Linked DNA regions of Homo sapiens: region 2 is linked to region 1. The links are contacts of gene promoters, found by promoter capture Hi-C in human tissues and cell types (Jung and others, 2019). All regions are on one chromosome and are shown on one strand. The core of a region is centred on a gene start or on the middle of the fragment in contact, and the rest is flanking DNA. Distances in the headings are between cores, read along the strand shown.

Region 1 (6,792 bases), core at 178-2,677:
ACTGATAACAAGATCACAAAAAATGCAAAAACCACAACCCTGCACAAAGGCCACTGCAAACTTACACAGAAAAATCTTTCTGTGAGGACATCTGCCCTGCAACTGCCTGTCCAACCTCAGACTAGCACCACTCTTGCTATTCATCCTTGTAGCCAAGGATAACTATCTCAAAATAATCATGTAATCCTCATTTTTCCTTTTCAAAACCTTTGTCTTCCTTTACCTCCCCAAATACGTACACAGGTTACTATGGCACACATATTGTCACTACAATGTCTATTCCCAAGTAAACATCATTTTTTTAGAGTCTCTCACTCTGCTATTTAGGTTGACAGTACCTACCACACTCTAGGCACTGTTCTAGAGGCGGGAATACAGCAATAAATAAGCAAAAATCTCTGCACTCATGGTACTTGTCTCTAGTAGGGATAAGAGTTGATCAATAAACTTGTAAAATAAGCACAGAGGGATGAGAGGGTGTCGGTCAGGTACAAGATTACATAAAGTGGTCAGGAGAGGTCTCACACTCAGATTACAACTCCCCAATGTTACCAATGTGAAATCAAGGCACAGAAAAATGAGGTGACTGCCCAAAGTCACACAGCTATTCCCAGGCTGAACCAAGTGTCTGTTTGGCTCTAAGTCCAGTGCTCTGTCTTCTGACTCTTTGTAAATGAGCACAGGCTACCTGAGATCAGAGCTGGCTACTGAACTACCAGGACACCTGCCCCAGGGGAGAGATGCTCAGTTACAGACAGTGAGGGGCTGCAGAGATCATCCGGAGAACCCCCTACCCCCAAGCAGACGAGATAAGTGAAACCTAGAGAAGGAATAGTCCAAGTTCACCCAGGACCCTCCACATTCCACCTCCTGCTCCAAACTCAAGGGAACCAGAACCAGGCTAGGGCAAAACTTTAGGGGCCAAGGAGAATACCAGACAGCTGGCAATGACTGAAGCAGGTAGTGGGAAAGAAAAGCCAGAACAGCAGCCTGCGGGACAGGTCCTGCTTTCTCTACTGTTAAACTCACTTTTTCAGCCTCTCAATCCCGATCCTGCCGTATGCGTCACCCGGAGCTCCTCCTGGCTCAGCATGAGGCTCTGAACTCCTGCAGAGGTACCAGGTAGTGGCGGGCCTTGAGCCAGCTACCGGGGTCGGGGGCCCAGGTGGTTGACCCCGAGCCTTCGGAGCTCCCGGAGGAGGGAGCGAGCCTTCTCAAGGAACAGAGGCGTCCAGGTCCACGAAACTCCCTCCCCACCACCTGCAGCCGGTTCGAGGCCCTCGGTTCTCTCATTATCCTTCCCGGGAACCTGCAGCCCGCGGCCCCTACAGCCACCTACCTGGCCAGTCGGTGCAGGAAGGGCAGGTGGCCGAGTCCTGTGCGAGCAGCTAGGCTCGAAGGTCCAACAGGCTAACAGCAAAGCAACTGAAAGCGGGAGCAAACGGCTAGCAACCGAGCGCAGACCGCCGAGCTCCGTCCCGCCCACCGCGCTGCTCCCGGCCAATGAGCGCGAGCCGCCACTGCGGGGCTCCGCTAGCCTCACTTCCGGCCCCGCTCCACCGCCCCTGCCTGCCCCTCCAGGCTCTGGCGTGCCTCCAGCGCGCTGTGGGCACCATCCTCGTCCTGTCCCTCCTGCGGGCCCTGGGTACGTGGCCCTGGATTTAGCTTGTGTTGGAGGAAGTTAAATCTGTGGGTGGGGTCTGTGCCCAATTTAAGGCGTGAATCAGCAAACTGGGGTCCCAGCTCCTGTCGGCCGGGCGACCTTCTGCGCGCCCTCCCTGAAACTGTGTCGTCGTCTGTGGCCGAGTTTTTAAACTTTAGATCGCAACGTGAGTTTAGTGGGCGGTGACTAGCACTTTTGTTCTTCTTTAAGGACCTCAGAGACTCAGTGCAGGATTCGGGCATCCCCTCCTTGCCCCTCCGGTCCACCAACTAATAAGCCAAGTGCGGCGGGGGCTTCCTCGTCCGTTCGTTAGGCCGAGTGCAGCCCCACTTTTGCGCAGGATCAGGACAGTCAGACCCGAGAAGGCAGCGTGGCGTGGCCATCTCCGGGCCCGGGGCCCCTGCCGGGCGGGAAGGGAGCTGGAGGCCCGGTCTGGGCTGAGCTCCCCAGAACAGGCGCAGGGCAGGCACTGTCGAGCGCAGACCTCATGCCGGGGACCAAGCTGGACATGCATTCCCAGGATCTACCCACGAGGGTGCATAAACACCAGTTCTGATGACGGCTGTACGGGAAGGGACAGAGGTGACCTACTTTAGCCAGACAAGGGCTGAGGCTGGGACAGTTTCGTTCTGATAGGAAAGCTGAGAATTTGACCCTCCTTGCCTGGAAAGTTTACCTCTATCCACCTCCACGTGAGGCGAGGGAGCAGGTCAAGTGCCTCTGGGAGCTGTTGAATCGCAGCAGCCCCAACCCCTAGGCCTTTCTCTGCCCTGCCAGCCCCAGGATGGCCTGACTGGTGTTCTCTGAGTACAGCTGAGGCACCCAGCTGACTCCTTGAATGCTGTTACAAGAACAAATCCTGTCCCGTCCCTCCTTCCCTGAGGAGGCCATCAGTCTCCTTGCTGAAACAATCCCTTATCCAACTGGCTGAGAAACCAGCTCCTGGTAGACAAGGTAGTACAGTGTTTTTGGAGAGCTCGCGCAGGTATGTGAGTGTATCATTTTATTTCCTTATTCTATTTCAACAATAGAGTATATGGCTCCATATGAATAGCTTCAGCTGTCATCCATTTCCCCAACAATTATGCCCTTTGTCTCCAGGTCTCATTCTCTCTCCACTTCTGGGCCTTCAAGTCCTGAGGATCAGTTTCTGATGTGGGACAGGGATACAGCCACCCCTCCCAGGCAGCTGGCAGCAAAACATGAGAGGAAAACAGCAGAGAAGTGGGGCCAACCATGGGGGCATCACACTTCCAGAGCCCAAAACAGTCAAGAATGGTCAGGCAAGAACAGAAGTGCTCCTGAGAATAGTGGGATGGATTCTGAAATTGGGTCCTGAACACCTGGGCTAGGTAGTTGCTATTCAACAGGGAACTATTGCACGGAAGGGGCAAGGAAGAGAGCCAGGGAGGCAGCCAGAGGGGTGCAGAGGAAGCAAACTACCCTCACACACACCTCTGGACTGCAGTATCTCTGGACTGCAGTGTCTCTGGGTGCAACCAGCCACCTACCAGAGGGTCTCTGACCACTGCCACAGCCCCAAGCTTGCTTTTTTTTTTTTTTTTTGAGACATAGTCTCACTCTGCCACCCAGGCTGGAGTGTGCAGTGGCACAATCTCGGCTCTCTGGTCACTGCAATCTCCACCTCCCAGGTTCAAGTGATTGTCCTGCCTCATCCTCCCAAGTAGCTTGGATTACAGGCATGCACCACCATGCCCGGCTAATTTTTGTATTTTTAGTAGAGATGGGGTTTTACCATGTAGGCCAGGCTCGTCTCAGAACTCCTGACCTCAAGTGATCCACTCACCTTGGCTGGGATTACAGTGTGAGCCACTGCGCCCGGCCCCCAAGCTTTCTTTTTTTTTGAGACGGAGTCTTGGTCTGTTGCCCAGGCTGGAGTACAGTGGCGCGATCTTGGCTCACTGCAGCCTCTGCCTCCCAGGTTCCAGTGATTCTCCTGCCTCAGCCTCCTGGGTAGCTGGGATTACAGGCTCATGCTACCACGCCCAGCTAATTTTTGTATTTTTTAGTAGAGATGGGGTTTCACCATGTTGGCCAGGCTGGTCTCAAACTCCTGAGCTCAGGTGATCTGCCCACCTTGGCCTCCCAAAGTGCTGGGATTACAGGCGTGAGCCACTGCACCCGGCCATCCAAGCTTTCTTAAGAACATGGAAGTCACACAGACACACACACATTGTGTGTGTGTGTGTGTGTGTGCACCTGGCCATCCAAGCTTTCTTAAGAACATGGCAGTCACAGAGACACACACTATGTGTGTGTGTGTGTGTGTGTGTGTGTGTGTGTGTGTGTGTGTGTGTGTGTGTGTTGGGCTGAGGATCACTTGAACCAACTGCGCTTGGACAACTGTCTCCAAAGCTCATGGGGGAAGGACTAGCTCCTTTCTGAGTTCGGTGATGTAGCTTTGGAGACAGGCAAATCTGAGGTCAAATCCTGATTGTATCACTAGCTCTGTGATTCTGGGCACGACTGAATGTCTCTGGCCTCAGTTTCGTTATTTGGAAAGGGAGTAGGAATAATAACAGACACCAATATAACATTCACACCAAGCCAGGAGCTGTTTTTGGTGCTTTACATATATTAACTCATTTAAGTCCTTGCTACAACCCTAGGAGGTAGGTACAGGTTGAGTATCCCTTATCCAAAATTCTTGGGACCAGAAGTGTTTTGTATTTCAGATTTTTTTTCGAATTTTGTAATATTTGCCTATAATAATGAGATATGTTGGGGATGGGACCCAAGTCTAAACACAAAATTCATTTGTTTTATATACACCTTGTACACATAGCCAGAAGGTAATTTTTTATTTTTTTGAGACGGAGTCTTGCTCTGTCGCCCTGGCTGGAGTGCAGTGGTGCAATCTTAGCTGACTGCAACCTCTGCCGCCCAAGTTCAAGCAGTTCTCCTGTCTCAACCTCCTAAGTAGCTGGGATCACAGACGTGTGCCACCACAGCCGACTAATTTTTGTATTTTTAGTAGAGACAGGGTTTCACCATGTTGGCCAGGCTGGTCTTGAACTCCTGACCTCAGATGATCCACCCACCTTGGCCTCCCAAAGTGCTAGGATTACAGGCGTGAGCCACGCGTCTGGCCACCTGAAGGTAATTTTATGCAGTTTTAAATAATTTTGTTCATGGGCCAGGCACAGTGGCTCATGCCTGTAATCCCAGCACTTGGGAGGCCAAGGCAGGCAGATCACCTGAGCTCAGGAGTTTGAGACAAGCCTGGGCAACATGGTGAAACCCTGTATCTACAAAAATTAGCCAGGCATGCTGGTGTGCACCTGTAGTCTCAGCTACTCGGAGGGCTGAGGCGGGAGGATCCCTTGGGCCCAGGAGGTGAAGGCTACAGTGAGCTATGTTCACACCAGTGCACTCCAGCCTGGGTGACAAAGCAAGACACTGTCTTAAAAAAAATAAATAAAAAGAATGTAAAAAATATAATTTTATTCATGAAACAAAATTTTTTGTTTTTTTTCTGGGACAGAGTCATGTTTTGTCGCCCAGGGTGCAGTACAGTGGTGTGATCTTGGCTCACTGCCCTCCGCATCCCCGATTCAAGCGATTCTTGTGCCTCAGCCTCCCGAGTAGCTAGGACTACAGGCACATGCCACCACACCCAGCTAATTTTGGTATTTTTCATAGAGATGAGGTTTCACCATGTTGGCCAGACTGGTCTCAAACTCCTGGCCTCAGGCGTGAGCCACCGCACTTGGCCTATTCATGAAACAAAGTTTTGGCTACATTTTGACTGCAACTCATCATGTGAAGTCAGGTATGGAATTTTCCACCTGTAGCATCACATCAGCACTCAAAAAGTTTCAGATTTTGGAGCACTTTGGATTTCTAATTTTTGTATTAGGGATGCTCAACCTGTACTACAAGTACCTTAACACTCCTAGCTGATGTGAGGATTAAATATAATGCATGTAGCCGGGCATGGTGGCTCATGCCTGTAATCCCAGCACTTTGGGAGGCCGAGGGGGGCAGATCGCAAGGTCAGGAGTTCGAGACCAGCCTGTCCAATATGGTGAAACCCTGTCTCTACTAAAAATAGAAAAAAAAAAAAAAAACCTGGGCGTGGTGGCAGGCACCTGTAGTCCCAGCTACTCGGGAGGCTGAGGCAGGAGAATCGCTTGAGCCTGGGAGGCGGAGGTTACAGTGAGCCAAGATCGTGCCACTGCACTCCAGCCTGGGCGACGGAGCAAGACTCCATCTCAAAAATGAATAAATAAATATATATATATGTAAAATGCATGTAATGTGCCTGCTTTCTGTAGGAACTTAATATTAACAGGACACGGCATTGTTGTTGTCAACACTGTTAATTGACCCCTGCTTACTTTAGAAGACTAGTGCACCTAGGTCCTGAAGCATGATGCCACAGCTTCTTATGGCCTGGGAGAGCTTGCCCAGGCCAAGACAGGTCAGCCAAAGCCACACCTTGCAGAACATCACCCACCTCTTCATGAGAGAGGACACTGCTACTCCGGTACCGCATAAACTGGCCCAGGAAGAGAAGCCCCAAACACCCAGTGATTTGGCATCTCCTTCATCATAGATGCAAGAAAGGATACAGCATGTCCTGCAGGGGTGGCTGGCCTGAGGAGGTGCTAGGGGGAAGGCCCTCCAAGGAGGCCTGCAGGGTCTGGGCCATGCTGTGGTCAGCCAGGTGTCCCATGCTCTGGAGCTGCAGGGAGAAGAGGGCAGGGAAGACAGGCCTCCTCAGTGCCCATTCCACACAGGCCCTAACTGCCTCCATCCTCTGTACTTCCCTCCTCCCATTCCTTGGTTGCTGTGGCCAGAGCTCCCACCCTCCAAGAGAAGATGGTGTTGAGGGTCTAGCTTTACAGTGGCTGCATGGCCTCCCCTTCCCACCCACCTGCTGGAAGAAGCCATGCAGGGCCTGGAGTGTGGTGTTCGAGAGGGTAGACAGGTCAGCCAAAGCCACACCTTGCAGAACATCACCCACCTCTTCATGAGAGAGGACACTGCTACTCCGGTACCGCATAAACTGGCCCAGGAAGAGAAACCCCCAAACACCCAGTGATTTGGCATCTCCTTCATCATAGACAACTGCTGTGCCCCAACTTTAGGAGACACTGTCCTGA
Region 2 (7,265 bases), core at 2,837-5,336, 280 kb before region 1:
GTTTTCTGAGGCCCGAAGTGCCCAACATTATAACAAAAGCCTAAAACAAGGGTTTTGGGAGTTATAAGCCAGGAAATAGATGAAAACCTATCTATATCCTCATATCACAGAACCCGAGTTTTGAATCATTCTAGTTATATTTAAGTAGTATGCTAACAAGCAGAGCTGTCATGACTGGCACTGAACACAGAATGGCATGAGGCTTTAGTTAGCCCATGAAGCTTTCTTAAGGGAAAATGCACAGTTTCTGTTGGGCTTTTGTAAACAATGAAAATAGTTCCCAGGGCCCCCAGAATAGTTCACCAGGCTCCACTGCAGCCTGGATAGCCTGGGCCTATGTTTCTCCCATAAATAAAGGACAGCAGAGACAACTGCACCAACTAGAACCTAGGGATACTGAGAAACTGCAGCCATCACTCAGTCACGCACGGCTGATATTTATTATGTTTATTCATAATTTGATTGCTTGTTTGTGCAGTGCTTAGTGGACAGCACATCTCAGGGAGCCTCCCAGAGCCTGGGGTGGAATACGGTCATGGACCATACAGGAAGCTTCACCAGACTGGGAGGCTGAGGGCCTTCCCCGAGCCTTTCTGCTGATAGGGAAGGCAGAGAAACTGAGAGCATCACCATTTCTTCAGTTAGTGCTTTCTCCTTTCTGTAATTCCTGTAAGAAAGGAAAGCAGCAGTGAACTGGGCAACAGCGTAGTCTTCCATCCGCAGACTGAAAGAATTCCACAAAGTGCTTCTATCAAACATGGCAGGAGAAAGGCAGCTTTGAGCACGTTTGGTTGTTCATGCGCACGTTAACTGGGCATTCACCACAGGCCAGGCACTGGGGGCCGCAATGTATAAAAAACGTCCCCTGCCAGCAAGAAGCTCAGAGTCTAGTAAAATTTTGCTTTGTGTGTGTTTAGCCACATAATACCGAGTATTTGAAGAGAGGTACTGGTTGCTTAGAGGAAGGAGCCGTCAACTTTCAAATGAAAGGAGGAACGAAGACTTCAAAGACACTGTAGAATGGGTGGAATTAAGACCCAGAGCTCTGGGAAGGAGCCTTCCATGTGGGAGGAACAATGAGCCAATGTTTGGGGGTGGGTATGAGTGTGAAAACTCAAGAAATGGTGAATACTGGGAATCGGTGTGTGGCTGGAAATATGGAAGATGAGACTGGAATAAGAGGTGTGACCAGATTATGGCAAGCCTTGAATGCCAGGCTAAGGAACAGGAGTGTCCTCATCTCTTGACAGAATGCCATGCAGCACATATTAGAGCACATGAAGTTGGCTGGGCGCAGTGGCTCACGCCTGTAATCACAGCACTTTGGGAGGCCAAGGTGGGTGGATCACCTGAGGTCGGGAGTTTGAGACTAGCCTGGCTAACATGGAGAAACCCCGTCTCTACTAAAAATACAAAATTAGCCAGGCACAGTGGCGCATGTCTGTAATCCCAGCTACCCGGTAGGCTGAGGCAGGAGAATCGCTTGAACCTGGAAGGCAGAGGTTGCAGTGAGTCGAGATCATGCCATTGCACTCCAGCCTGGGCAACAAGAGCGAAACTCCGTCTCAAAAAACAAACAAACGAAAACATTAGCCACCAAGTGGGCCAATTCATTAATGCTTCTGCCCCCAGTGTCCAAATGCTGCTACCAGGCCAGACTGCATCACAGACAGATGCTCCACCCTGCTTCCTGCTCCATCTAGGGTAAAGCAAGTCTTACCTGTTAGTCATCATCATCATCATCCTCTGGAACAAAAATGTCATGTTCCTCAAGTAGAGCAGCAAAGTTCTTGCTAATGAGTGTCCCGACATAGAGAAAGGGGATCACAATGGAGAACACACGGAGAAGGCCGAAGGACATCTGCAGAGGGTCAGAGTGGCAGCTGTGAGCTCCAGAGCCCACTCTGGCAGGACCAAAGAAGACCTGGCCCTCTCACAGACATACCCTCAGACCCATCATAAGCAACTTGATTTTAAAGTCCTTGGAAAAATTCAGGGCAAGAAAAGTAATTAGAAAAGGAGAAGGCCAGGCAGGGTGGCTCACACCTTTAATCCCAGCACTTTGGGAGGCTGAGGTGGGTGGACCACCTGAGGTCAGGAGCTTGAGACCAGCCTGGCCAACATGGTGAAATCCCGTCTCTACTAAAAATACAAAAAATTGACCCAGCATGGTGGTGCGCACCTGTAATCCCAGCTACTCGGGAGGCTGAGGCAGGATAATTGCTTGAATCCAGGAGGCAGAAGTTGCAGTGAGCCAAGATTGCACCATTCCACTCCAGCCTGGGAGACAGAGTGAGGCTCTGTCTAAAAAAAAGACAAAAGGCCGGGCGCAGTGGCTCACACCTGTAATCCCAGCACTTTGGGAGGCTGAGGCGGGCGGATCACGAGGTCAGAAGTTCGAAATCAGCCTGGCTAACATAGTGAAACCCCGTCTCTACTAAAAATACAAAAAATTAGCCGGGTGTGGTGGTACATGCCTGTAGTCCCAGCTACTCAGAAGGCTGAGGCAGAAGAATCACTTGAACCCGGGAGGCGGAGGCTGCAGTGAGCCAAGATTGTGCCACTGTACTCCAGCCTGGGTGACAGAGTGAGACTCCGTCTCAAAAAAAAAAAAAAGGAGATAAGGTGACTGTTATGGCCATCAAAATGGACGAAAAGTCCACTGGAAAGAAAAGTCTAAGGCACCCTAGACATCTAAAGTTAGGACACAGCCTGCTAATTACTTTAAATCCCTACAGGCAATCGGGTGCACCAGTACTAGGAGGGCCAGACTACGGTGAGCTCTGCCTGAACACGAAATACACGAAAACCGATGACAGAAAGATGTACAGTGAAGGGATATTCTACACAGTTCACTAAGTAACAGGTTCCCTGATGCCTGAGAAATTTGATTTAAAAATTTTAGAAACAGATGTATTTGAAAGTGGGCATGTATTTACACTCAAAGACTTTAGATGGATTGGGAGAATGTCAGTAAAATCTCAGCAACATTTCTCTCGTATTCCTAGAATTAAAAAAATTTTTTTTTCAACTGTTTTGATAAGGCAGGTCTTTCCCAACATGGACCTACAGTCAATTGTGTGAGTTAGCATAGGCTAGACTAGCTTTAAGAGAATTTGTTTTTTTAACTCCCACACCACACAGCCCTGCAGTCGTAAAGCAAACTTTCGCTTGATATAAGGGACTGTTTCCGTTTTCCCTAGAAAAACTCAAGCATGTGATAGCGTTCAGTGTTGGAAAAAGACAGGACCTGGTGGGGACGGTACCAGGAAGAAACCCGGATGCTGCGTCCTCAGCGCTGGCCTTGGATACGAGCTTCACCGCTCTAGCCCGATTCTTCATTTGAAAACCCGTGATTGTAATAATTCCCTGCACATCTATCAGGACTGTAAATCACATGAATTAAATATTAGGTGACAACTAATAAAAAGATGAGGCCCGTCCCACGTACCCTTTATTTACAGAGTCCTTTCAAAATTCATATTTCATCCCATAAACTAGGAGACAGGCAGGGCAGAGATTACAGGACTGCTCTAAGCTAGAAGCACACGGCCTAGTCTTCTGACTCCAGAGGAGCAGAGCACCGCACCTCTCAGGACAAGCTAATGTAAAAGGCCAACTTCCTCAGCGTTTGCCCCCCATCTTCTGTCTACCTACCATTTTCTACACACCTGTCAAAATTAGCAACTCATTAGCGTATTCTTGGTCCGCCTTCCAGTCTACGGTAATCGTTATGATTGGCCTTGGCTCCTATCAATCAGCGCCGCCCTCACGCACTCCCCACAATGATTGGCCTCAGCCCCTTCGCCCCGTCTCCAGGAGGACACTCACTTTCACCGGTTTGGGCAAAATGGCGCCGCTGCGGGTAACGATGACTGACCTCGACGGTACCAGGCTCCGGCCTGAGCCGCTCCATGCGGCGGAGACATCGCCATCTTTCCTCAAGCTAGGCCCGCTCCGGAGAGCCCCGGACCTGACGGGTGCCAATACTAGCCAGCGAGCCGCTCCGGACGCCATGCCCCCAGCTCCGCCCCTCACCCGGGCACCCGCACCCCACCGCCCAGCCCTCGTGCCGCCCTCGGGAAGAAAGCCGCCCGAAGCCTCGCGAGAGTTTGAGGAGTACACGAGAAGCCCAGCCCTCCCACTCGCGCAGTGCCGGCGGCTCCTGGGGCGGCGGGAGGGAGGTGTTTGTCACTGGCCGGCATGGTGGCGTCACGAGAGTGGCGGCGCAGCCCCGGCTCCCTCAGTCCGCGTCCTGCTGGGCGTGGCCGCGGTCTTGGGTCCGCCCGGCCGTCAGAACAGGCCTCAGCGGCCGGTTGTGGAAATAAACCCAGGGAGCGGAAGGAGTAATAACGAAAAAGCTTTACTAGTGTTTTAACCGTGTACAAAACACTGTAGCAATAAGAGAAAGGCCCGTGCTATCTGTGTTTAAACAAAATGCAGTGGCTGCGGGGCTTCCAGGCAGGGCTGGGGAACAGGCCGGGCGCCCGCCTTGGGCGCATCTCCGCCTCTTAGGGGTAAGAGGCTCAGAGCCTACCCCTTAGGCCTAGTTGGATGCGGGTCGGTCCTGCCCAAGGCCCCAGTGAGGGGAGCCGAGGCTAGGAAGGGGCAAGTTTTATGTGTTTGGGAGGGGGTGTCTCTTCCCGGCCTCTGCGTCTTCCCCCTGGAGCGTCAGTATGGTCAGGCTCTGGTGACCCAGCCGCTTTGCCTCCCGACTTTGGGAAGAGTAGCAAGGAGAGGTCCTGGCAAGTACACCCTGGGTGACAAACGGCTATGAGAGTTCCCAGGTGATTTCTCGAGCAGCTTCAGTTTACCGGAGCCCAGCCAGGAGAGAGAATTTTAGCACAGGAAACGCAATCCCGTGTCCAAGCTCCTAGAATACCCAGGACTGAGAACCAAAGCAACAGACTTTTCCCAGGGAGCCACACTGCCTCCCCACCTCTTCTTTAACCCCTCACTTGGCAGCTCCAGGAGTTGGCTGCTGAAGACAGAGTACAGGAGGGCATTTCGTTGACGTAAAAAAGCTACAAGCCCCTTCCGGGGCAAGGTCCAGCACCATCTGTTAACAGGGCAGCCAGGGAGAAAGGATGGGACCCCAGCACTCTGAGCAGAATAAATCTCTCTTCACTGGCCGAAGACCCTCTGCCTCAAAGGGCCCTACCCAGACTGCTGAGTGAGGATCCCATCCCCAATCTTCCCACCCCTCTCAGGAAGAGCTGGGTCCCAGAAACTCCTATGACACAATAAATCCACTTTCTCTGACAGTGTCAGAGCTTCAAGCCGATACTGCAGCCTACCTCGGATTTAAGTGCACAGGAGACTCCCCAGGTTGGAAATTATGGCTCTAGAGCCCGGTGTGTAGGCCAAAGGTATGGCAAGCCTGTGACAGTCTCGGGTGACATTCCCCACTTCCTTCATTTCATTAACATCCCCTGGGAGGGGGCAGTCAGGCCAGTGCAGTCAGGAGATTGGGGTCTTGCTCTGTGGCTGCTAAGTCTCCTTCCTTCTCTGGACCTCAGGAAATAAAGAGGATGGAAGGAATGGTCCCGCAGTCCCTTCCAGACACACGGGTGGATCTCGAACCTGGAGAATGCCTAAATAGCAGGAAGGAGAGAACCCATGTCCCCTCCCAAAACGCAACCTTGGAAATGGGTAAACATTTAACTCCTGAAAAAGAACTGGCCCTGGTTTCCTGACTCAAAGGGCCCAGACTTAGGGCCTATCCTGTTCCTCACATTTTGAGTGGCTCCCCTGGGCCCTCTTCTGCCAACACTGCCGCAGCTCCACGATCTCCTGGCCATACCAGTCATGCAGGGTAGAGAAGCAGGAGGTCTCAGGGGACACAGGGCTCTGCCCCTTGCCTAGGAGGAGGCTGGCAGGGCCCTGCAGCTCCCACTCAGCCAACCCCCACCCTGCAGACCTGCTGCCCGCTTCTTCAACCAAGCCCACAGGGCTGCTGTCCTTGGAGAGGCAGTGGCCATTCTCCAGGCCCGCAGCTCGGTGGTTAGGAGCCTGGGGCTTACAGCGGCTGGCAACAGACTTCCAGGATGAGCGGCGTTGCAAAGCCAGGCTCTGGCGTGCGTCCTGCAACTGGCTCTCCAACTCGCGTACCACCAGGCGCATGTAGCCAAAGCTTGCCCGGGACAGCACCTTCACCCAGGCCTCCTGGGCCGCCGGCCCTTCTGCGGCCAGCAGGTGTGGGCGCACTCCAGGGGCATCAAAGCAGATGGCAAAGGCAAACTCCTCGGGCACGGGAGCCTCGGCCAGTTCCACTGTGCAGCCTTCCAGCACCACCAGGCTCAGTGGGGCCCGGCCCTCGCGACTCTCAAAGGAGAATAGCAGGTTGCCCTTGAGGACAAACCAGCATCTTCGGCCAGTGCCACTGGGGGTCGGTGGGGTCCCTGGGCCCCCCCAGGTGCGCAGGAAGCCCATGTGGTCCGCTGGGGAGTCGCTGAGTGCATAGTGGGCTACACTCCTCTCGTTCAGCTTCATGGCTCCCACGGGAACTGTGAGGCAAGAGAGATGGCAGCAGATCAGAGAGGGAGGTGGTTCCGTGCCCTCCTGGGGAACAGCACCGGCTCCAGAGGCAACCTGGACCCCAGCCCTGGGACTCCTACTCGCTTGCTGTGTCCCTAAGGTCCCTAAAGTCTCCTGAGAAGTGGGCTCGTCTTTCCTTCCTTTTCTCTCAAAGGGATGTCGTGAGGATCATGCAAAAAAAACTGGACACTGGCGGACTTCGAGAAAAGAATAACGAGATTGCATCAGACAGGAGGCATGGCAGGACCTGGGCACGGCTTTCTAAAATCCAAAGAAACAGGCCCCAGCTGAGCTGAAATGGACCCCAGACCCATCGAAACCACTGTGCTTAAACTATCCCCTCATCTGGGGTCCTCTCAACTCCAACTCTGAGGCCAAGCTTCCAGGGTTTCCATGACCCTCCTGGGCCTCTACTGGCCTCTTATTTGCATATAGCTGTTGAATCTTATTGACCTACAGGCAGAAGCTGAGGCACAAATATAACTTTAAAGAGTTTACTTGAGCGAGAGTAAGGATAACTGCCCAGAACAAACTTCTAAGTTGCCGTGGGGTGTGCTGCGTTGGGCCTTTCCTACAGGTTTTTATAGGCAGAAGGGGGCAAGGATGACAAAGTTGTTTGGCAGGAATTCTCCTTGGTTTATAGAAATAACATTGATTGGTGGGGTGCGGTGGCTCACATCTGTAATCCCAGCACTTTGGGAGGCCGAGGTGGGTGGATCACCTGAGCT

The links. Contacts are between HindIII fragments. The study calls those that stand out against the background at their distance.
Region 2: a contact is called between the fragment with the promoter of SMDT1 here and the fragment with the promoter of CCDC134 in region 1, in 1 of the 25 tissues and cell types used here (neural progenitor cells).

What each region holds. Positions count from the first base shown.
Region 1 is chr22:41,795,314-41,802,105 of GRCh38, reverse strand. CCDC134 (coiled-coil domain containing 134) reads right to left here and starts at 1,427. Exons shown (of 7, transcript NM_024821.5): 1 at 1,340-1,427. MEI1 (meiotic double-stranded break formation protein 1) reads right to left here. Exons shown (of 31, transcript NM_152513.4): 29 at 6,564-6,695; 30 at 6,259-6,371; 31 at 2,652-2,852. The coding sequence ends at 2,807. RefSeq lists silencers at 1,405-1,464, 2,055-2,144 and enhancers at 1,615-1,694, 1,765-1,844, 1,620-2,606. The HindIII fragment of the contact is 18,239 bases long and covers 1-3,361 here.
Region 2 is chr22:42,076,521-42,083,785 of GRCh38, reverse strand. It overlaps SMDT1 (single-pass membrane protein with aspartate rich tail 1), which reads right to left and starts at 4,086. Exons shown (of 3, transcript NM_033318.5): 1 at 3,832-4,086; 2 at 1,721-1,861; 3 at 1-667. The coding sequence starts at 4,017. The coding sequence ends at 1,724. It overlaps PHETA2 (PH domain containing endocytic trafficking adaptor 2), which reads right to left. Exons shown (of 3, transcript NM_001002034.3): 3 at 4,348-6,506. The coding sequence starts at 6,492. The coding sequence ends at 5,713. RefSeq lists enhancers at 3,569-4,341, 5,582-6,144 and a silencer at 4,367-4,661. The HindIII fragment of the contact is 9,212 bases long and covers 1-5,247 here.